Regions from separate parts of the Homo sapiens genome. Here region 1 is linked to region 2. The links are contacts of gene promoters, found by promoter capture Hi-C in human tissues and cell types (Jung and others, 2019). All regions are on one chromosome and are shown on one strand. Each heading gives the region's core, a stretch centred on a gene start or on the middle of the fragment in contact. The rest is flanking DNA. Distances are from core to core; before and after follow the strand shown.

Region 1 (4,328 bases), core at 150-2,649, 140 kb before region 2:
GTCAAACCAATCCCCTGGGCCTATAAAAATCAGACACCACCTCCTCCAGCCTTCTAATATAACAGATTGTTTCCACCATACTTGGGGTTTCCTCTCTCTGCTTGGAGCCACCCCCACCCCTCACCGACCCCCCGTCTCTGTAGCTGGGAGCTTCTTCTTTCTTTCTTGCCTATTAAACTCTCTGTTCCTTAAAACCACTCCATGTGTGTCCATGTTGTCTTATCTAAATTGGCGTGAGACAAAGGACTCTGGTGTTCCTCCATTCATTGAAGCTGTATCAATATTTTGTATCATTTCAATGAACTACTATAGGCAGCCCATCCCTTAAGTTTCCCTCTTAAGTTTTTTGGTCAGCTTTTCCTTTGCCCCAGCTGTTATTCCATATTAAGCAGCTGCAATGTACAGCAATAGGTGCTGATTGTTTTTGTCAAATACCCCTAGGGAAAAAGTCATTTGCACTGAGCGAGCTCTGTTTGAGATCAACTAAAGTCGTAGGTGGGAATTTCCAAGATCATGTTTGATAGTTTGAATAATGACAGTACTCTAAGAATAATTTTTGGGACTTCTAAACCCTTTATGGCCCCTCTGAGACCTGTTGGGCTACAGTTCACTACTGCTACTATAGTTGTAAGACCTACTATAGTTTTTCAAGGCTACTGTGAAGCTGAGGAATACGGAATAGGAATAGAGCAAGTTAAATCTCCACAAAGGTCACTGTTTTCAATTAAATTCACCTATTTTCTTGAGTAAATGCTTGCCAGATTTTTGCAAGTCTTTGGTTAATTCACAGTATTCTGAGGAAGTTTGTTTTGACAGTTTTTGTCAATGTTCTTGTTGATTTTATGAAGGAATAGCTTTTTGTAGGTCTTTATTCCACTGTTTCTGCTCATGTCTGGCAAGACAATTAAGCAGGTAATTATGAGGGCATGTAGAACACATCTTGGAGAATTTATTCTCAAGGTGGCATTCTATAAAATTATGTAAATATTTAATCTGAGAAGTGAAAGATGAGACAGTTTTCCAGGTGAATAAGGCAGAGGAAAAACAACAACAACAACAACTTTGTAGACAAGGGTAAAATGTACAAGTCTTAGAGATGGGAGAAAGAATGGTCCACTACAGTGAGACTGAAGAATGGAACAAGAGACAAAGCCAGATTACAGGGTGAAATCAATGCTGTTAAATAGTCTGGAATTATTCTAAGTGCAGAAAGAAAGTAATAAATTCTTATAAATTTGGGACAAATTGCAATTAGATATTAATTTTTGGAAGTTAACAGGTGCAATTTTTGGAAGTTACTCAGTCTAACAGGTGCAAGATGAACTGGAATAAAGGGATACCATAGAGAGATGACTGCCTTTAAGACCAATGCAGTGGAAGTAGAGATGATGGAAAGTTGTTGAATTAAAGACATTACTAGTCATTACAGTCTATGATTTATTAGGTAGGGTCATTTAATCAGAAAAAAATGCAGACAGAGAGTCAAGGATGGCCTTCATGCTTTGATTCCTAAAACTGTGGGCAGTATTCTTTCAAATGAGTCAGAAATTAGGGGGTAAAATTAGATTTAGAAAAGAATCAAAATGATCACTTTTGTTTCTGGAATATGTGGGAGATTGAGTTGGATATTTTAATGGACTTTTGGATATATGCTGCTAGCCCTAAGCAAAGGAGTCTGATCAGGAAAATTTATCTATCTATCTATCTATCTATCTATCTATCTATCTATCTATCCATCTATCTATCTATCTATCTGCATATATGTGTGTATATATGTATATATATGTGTGTGTGTGTGTGTATATATATATATATGTCTTCCTTATCTTTTGATTTAAAAACTGGTTTTCCATTTACAATGGGTGCAATGGTGTGTCTCCACTTTGGACTGAAGCCTCATTGTCTCAGCACCTGGGAGTCAGAAGCTTTCAACTGAATCTTCCTTGTATGGCTCTCAGCTAAACAGAAGTGCCTTCTCAAAGTCACACTTTCTCCCAGTGCCAGATGTATCAAACGGCTGGTTCGTGTGGGAGTATAAAAGCTTGGACTTGTTGCCTTATATCAAGATAAACTTGAAAGGGCACTCACCTCCAGAGCTCCCTATACTGTTAGCTGAAGCCTTTGTGTTACTGCATCACAATTCAATATCTGCCTTTGCCCAATCCTTTCTTTCTCATCCACAGGTACTTAACATCCTTTATGTAATCCTTCATCTGAGAGTCTGTTTTTGAGGAACCTGACCTGTAACACAGCCTGAAGAAATTTGGGGACAAATCCTAGCAAAAAATTGGGATATCATTCTTGATGTATTTATTTTTTGGATGATACATATCATTTTACTCCCTAAGAGCCATACCAATCAATACTACAAAAGAATGAGCAAACGGAATTTCTCTGCAGCCTGTATCTCAACAAGATCTGCTCCTCCAACTCCTTGCATCTGGCATTTTTTGGGGGATAATCATAAGGAATGTTTTGACTCTCTGATAAACACACAGAAATGAACATTTTGTAGGAAACCATAAACATGAGTCATACAGATAAAAAGCAAACATAGTTCTATTTACTGTCATCAGAGTATGTAGATCAATATTTTATTGCATTGGAAGCTTCATCTGCCATTTTTAAAGTAATCATTTCAACCAGGAGGATGGTATATTCTGACTGAAAACCTCCCAGGACCATATTATGTAGGCAAATGATTTTTTCCAAAGAAATAGACAGGAAAGTGGCTGTAAAGACAAAATGTATACCTTTGACTATAGTGGCTAAGGCCGTATCTCTGTGTTTTTTCCATTGACCACATGGTTGGTTTGAGTCATAGGTGTACTGAGTCAAATGGAATTGAATGATAAAATCAAGGAGCACTTTGTATCCAGAAGTACAGCAGAACATATCAAATATTAAATTGATGCATAAAATAGGAAATATCTTTGTTTACCTACATGTTAATACTAAAAAGTACTATTGCCCCATGCTTCACGATGAATATCAGGAAAGTAAGAACCATGGGAGATAAAAAATGAATTAACATAGTCTCCGACCTGTGTGTCTACAGTTGAATTTTATACATATAAGCCTTATAAATAAAGCATTTTACCTGCAAAAAAAGTGATCATAAAATAATATGATTACACAATTACACAAGGTGATAAAAGGAAAAGTTCTAATAAAGGGGCTAAGGAGCCGTGTGATAAACCAGTTGTAGGAAATATACTTCTCAGTCTTGCTTTGGATGTTGGAACGGTTTTTGAATGTCCTGGTTTTAGGAAAACTCACCTTCTACCTTTCTTCGAAACTTCAGAATTCATTTGCAACCAAATAAGGAAGTAACTCCTACGCATCTGTTTCCTATACACGTTTCTCTTCATTTCACCACAAAACTATGTAATTTATAGGAAGTCAATTTAACTTCTTTTCTTAGAAACAAGAAGTTACAAATTTCAAGGGTATTTTTGGAGGTATTGGCGGTTTACAATTTCATTCAAGGTTATTGTCATAGTTTGTTACACTTTTTAGTATAAGAAAAGCCTAATACAAAATATGTCAAACTAGCAAATAATTGAATTAATTTAAAAGAAGATAAAATGAGAACATTAATAAGAAGAATAAATATAGAACCCAACGTACCTTGAATTTCAGTGAAGCAACAAATTGTTTTTCTTAAAATATCTGTGTTTATATGAGCACTAAGTGGGCTGGGATTGTAAAATCCTGTTAGTAACAGCGGAATCACCTTTGTATCATGACAATGATGAAATTACTGTCTCTTGTCACAGCTGTGTGATTTGACTAATATAATTTGGCTTATATAATTCCCCAGCAATTAAATCTACTTTTCTGATTACACTACACCTGCACCTTAATAGGTGTATTTAGCTGGGGAAATAAAAAATCATGCTGAAATGTCTCATTTAAAAAACATAACCCACTTGAAACAGGCTTTTGTAGTTAGTACTGCACCCTAAACTATTCCTGTCAAGACCACCAATGACCTTCATTTTACAAAACTAATGACTGGTTCTCTGTTTTCATCTTGATTTCCATTTCTTTCTCTTTCTGTTTCTCTCTCTCAGTTTGGCTTGCATGAAACTTTTCTTCTATGTCACTAGTCATTTCTCTGAAGAAGCCCTTTTCACCCCTTTGTTTTCTTCTACTTTATCTGCACAAGCTTCCTAGATTATCTCATCCAGCCCATAGCATTAATGCCTTCCATATTCTTACGACCTGTTTTTCAGCTTTGACCTCCTTTTTGCATTCCATATTTGTCTGGCAACCGCTTAGTCACACTCTCTACTTCAGTGTCAAATTGACATTTTGAATTTAAA
Region 2 (3,924 bases), core at 153-2,652:
TTGGTTTTTATTGTGTTCTTGGTGCTTCTTCATTTCATTAATATCTTTTCTTTTGGAGCATTTTTATTATGCTTTAATTAAATTCTCAGACTAGATGTTCTAATGATTCCTGCAGCCCGGCTTTCTCATAATCTTCCAGTACATGCTTCACAGTACTTCATATTTTGTCTTCTCGTTATGCAATGAGATAAATTTTCTTCCACTTTTTACTCTCTAAACTCTTAAATCTGTTACCCAGACAAGCCTGACTAATTTATTTGGCTAAAGGGATGGAATCTTATTTCTTTTTGTAATACTAATGTCCAATTGTGTAAAATGTAGACTAATTTTTAAAAATTTTCTTATGAAGTTTTCATAGATCAAGAGTTCGTAACTATGACCAATAGTTAGAATATACAACGAAGTAAATTTAACCTTACCCTAAAGAAACTTCTAAATAGAACATCCTTAAATTAAAATGGAAAGTCTTCTAAGACAGAGAGATATTATCACTGAAAACATTCTAGTATAGGCTGCTAGAAATGCTGTAGCTAGAAATCGTATGGTAGATGAAAAGTTTTACTAGGTAGCTACTGAGGTCTCTTCAACCTTTAAGAGTATCAGGCTTACTTATTATTAAAAGAATTATCCCAATTGCCCTGGGAATTCATATCAGTAAACTCTGATAGTGGTTTCAGCTGGAGTCCTTAACTCATTTCAAGATTTTACTTTTTATCTCTTCACTGTCTTTATCTTAAAGTTTTGGCAGGCTTCCTATTCCAGTCATTTGGCATACAATTCATTCGTTTTCTTTAACATAAACCCTCAGAACTATTGTGAATGGAGGGTGTTTGTATGTGTACCTTGTTTTTATTTATTGGTTTGTTTATGTTTCAATCCACTGAAAACAAACTTCATTGTTGGCCTTAGCTGAATCTTAAAATTTTTGAAAAGTTCTTTTCAGTCTTATGAAGTCACAATCATCAAGCCTCCTTCCAGAGTGAAGCATTTGCTTTTTATTCTGTATAAAAGTGTTAAGCAATTTTTTCCCTGTGAAAGTACATTTTAAAAATATTCTTATTGAGATATAATACACGTACCATAAAATTCTGCCCCAAAACCTTCTTACACACAAGCTTATACCCTCTCTTGCAGACATAAAACTCTACATGCTCTAACAGGCTTCCACAATTCTCCGGAAGTGCTTCCCCATCCCTCACTTACTTTAGTAGACTTTCACAGTAAGTAAAGAGTCCATATTTTTAAGCTGTCCTGTATTTTGTTTTATCTTTCCTTTACTTCCTTCTCATTCACTCTATAAAACTTACCTATCCGATGTATGAAGCCATCAGCTCTGCCATCCCGCAGCTCTGGATTAATCATGGCAAGGCGCTAACCGATGGAGATCAGTAGGAGAGGACTAGAAAGCTTTTCATGTACATCACTTATTTAGGCACTGAGCAAGCTTCAGTCAAAAGAGACTTAACCAATCCAAATGGAAAACATCAGTACTAATTTTAGATCAAAGATAAAAGTAGGCAGACTTGTTAGTTTAAGGAAGGAATTTAAAAATTAACTCATCCATAACAAAAGGATCGTAAAGTCAATCATGTAAACACCACAACAACCGTGCTATGGAACATTTCCATCATCTTTCTTTTTTTCCTTGTGTAATCACTATCTTTTCTGACCCTGGACCCTGGCAAGCATTACTTTGCTTTATATCAACATAGTTTTTCCTTTCATGGAATTTTTTTTTTTTGAGGCAGGGTCTCACTGTGTTGCCCAGGCTGGAGTGCAGTGGGGAAAACTTGGCCCATTGCAACTTTGACCTCCTTGGCTCAAGCAATCCTCCTGCCCTACCCACCCAAGTAGCTGGGACTACAGTCGCGCACCATCATGCCCTGCTAATTTTATTTTTTGTAGAGACTAGGTCTCATTATATTGCCCAGACTGGTCTTGAACTCCTGGGCTTAAGTGATCTTCTGGCTTCAGTCACCCAAAGTACTGGGATTACAGGCATGAGCCACCACGGCCAGCCCCTTTCATAGAATTTTATATAAATGGTATCATATAATATGTAGTGTCTTGTCTCTTGCTTATTTCATTTATAATACTTTTGAGATTCACTCAAGTTGTTGTGCAGGTAAGTAGTTCATTCCCTTTTATTTCTTAGTAGTATTCCTATTGCATGTTATACCAGAAATTATCTCTTTGATCACTAGTTGATGGACTTTTGTTTCTAGGGTGGGACTGTTATGTATGAAACTGCTGTACACAGGCATTTTTGTGTGAGCAAGTTTTCTCTTGGATAAATTCCCAGAAATTGAATTGCTGCATCATATAAGTATGTTTATCTTTATAAAAAGCTGTAAAACTGGCTGGGCGCGGTGTCTGTCACCTGTAATCCCAGCACTTGGGGAGGCCGAGGCGGGTGGATCATGAGGTCAGGAGATCGAGACTATCCTGGCTAACACAATGAAACCCCGTCTCTACTAAAAATACAAAAAATTAGCCGGGCCTGGTGGCGGGTACCTGTAGTCCCAGCTACTCGAGAGGCTGAGGCAGGAGAATGGTGTGAACCCGGGAGGCGGAGCTTGCAGTGAGCCGAGATCGTGCCACTGCACTCCAGCCTGGGCAACTGAGCAAGACTCCGTCTCAAAAAAAAAAAAAAAAAATTTGCTTCAGCCTGGAATCTTTGCTTTTGGTGCTTCGGTGCAGAGACAGAAAACGGGCACTCAGAGTCACACTGGTAGTTGCACACTGTATCTGCAGAGGGCGTGTCTCATCTGTACCCCGCTGGGTTACGGGATTTCAGGAGGTATTTTTGTCCACCTGCGAATTCCATTTATTACCTTTCATTTAACAGACAATGTCTTTCCTTTCTGCAGTTGATTTTGCTAAAGAGGCAATTCATAAGGTGAGGTCCTACTCATAGTATGACTTGCTTTCTCACGACCTCCTTCCATTTTTAGTAACTCCCTGGTCTATTTGGTGTCTGTAAAAAAAGAATCTGGTAATGGAGACTTCTTTTAATATGGAAATTTGGCCTGGCAATAACTTATTCCTTTCCACATGTAACTGACCCAATCTGGTTTCCAGATGACAAGTATGCAAGCCCCAGATGTTGAGAAGCCATATTTCAACTGCTTCCTGCATCTGTTGAAATATAATTGTTCATACTTGCCATCCCTTATGTTTCTTGTAACAATTTGCACAGTTCTTGCCAGAATAAATGCCATTCTCTGTATGCTTCAGAGAATTCCGCAATTTGATCAGTGTGTGTGTGTGTGTGTGTGTGTGTGACCTTCCGTAAAACACTTCTAAAGGGTGAAAGCTCTTGTATGGCATAGACATGAATTCCTTCCTCTGGTAATAATTAGGTTATTTCCAGAAGCACAGTGTCATTTTTTTTTTTTTTTTGAGATGGAGTTTCTCTCCTGTGGCCCAGGCTGGAATGCAATGGTGTGATCTCGGCTCACGCAACTTCCACCTCCTGGGTTCAAGTGATTCTCCTGCCTCAGCCTCCTGAGTAGCTGGGATTATGGGCATGCACCACCATGCCTGCCTAATTTTGTATTTTTAGTAGAGACGAGGCTTCTCCATGTTGGTCCAGCTGGTCTCGAACTCCTGACCTCAGGTTATCCACCCGCCTCGGCCTCCCAAAGTGCTGGGATTACAGGTGTGAGCCACCATGCCCAGCCCATTCTTTAAATAAAAGCTTTCCTGTTTAAGGCTTTTCAAAGGAGCAGACCACTTTGAAGATTCTCCCTAGGGTTGATATGTGTCTAATTCATTTTATAAAATTATTCTTATCTTCATTTTAAAGCTTTGGCTATACAGTCAGAAATGTCCTGGATAACAAACTATTTTGTATTTAATTTAATTTGCCTCTTCATTGTCTTATTCAACAAACATTTACAGAATGCCTAATTAGTACTTGGC

The links. The method cuts DNA at HindIII sites, captures the fragments that hold promoters and counts their contacts. A contact is called where the count stands out against the background at its distance.
Region 1: a contact is called between a fragment that was not itself captured here and the fragment with the promoter of CLEC2A in region 2, in 1 of the 25 tissues and cell types used here (mesenchymal stem cells).

What each region holds. Positions count from the first base shown.
Region 1 is chr12:9,790,640-9,794,967 of GRCh38, forward strand. No RefSeq gene overlaps it. Among named protein-coding and RNA genes, the nearest start is that of CD69, 32 kb to the left of the region's middle. The HindIII fragment of the contact is 3,981 bases long and covers 1-3,390 here.
Region 2 is chr12:9,930,968-9,934,891 of GRCh38, forward strand. It overlaps CLEC2A (C-type lectin domain family 2 member A), which reads right to left and starts at 1,403. Exons shown (of 5, transcript NM_001130711.2): 1 at 1,308-1,403. The coding sequence starts at 1,362. The HindIII fragment of the contact is 8,050 bases long and covers 1-2,572 here.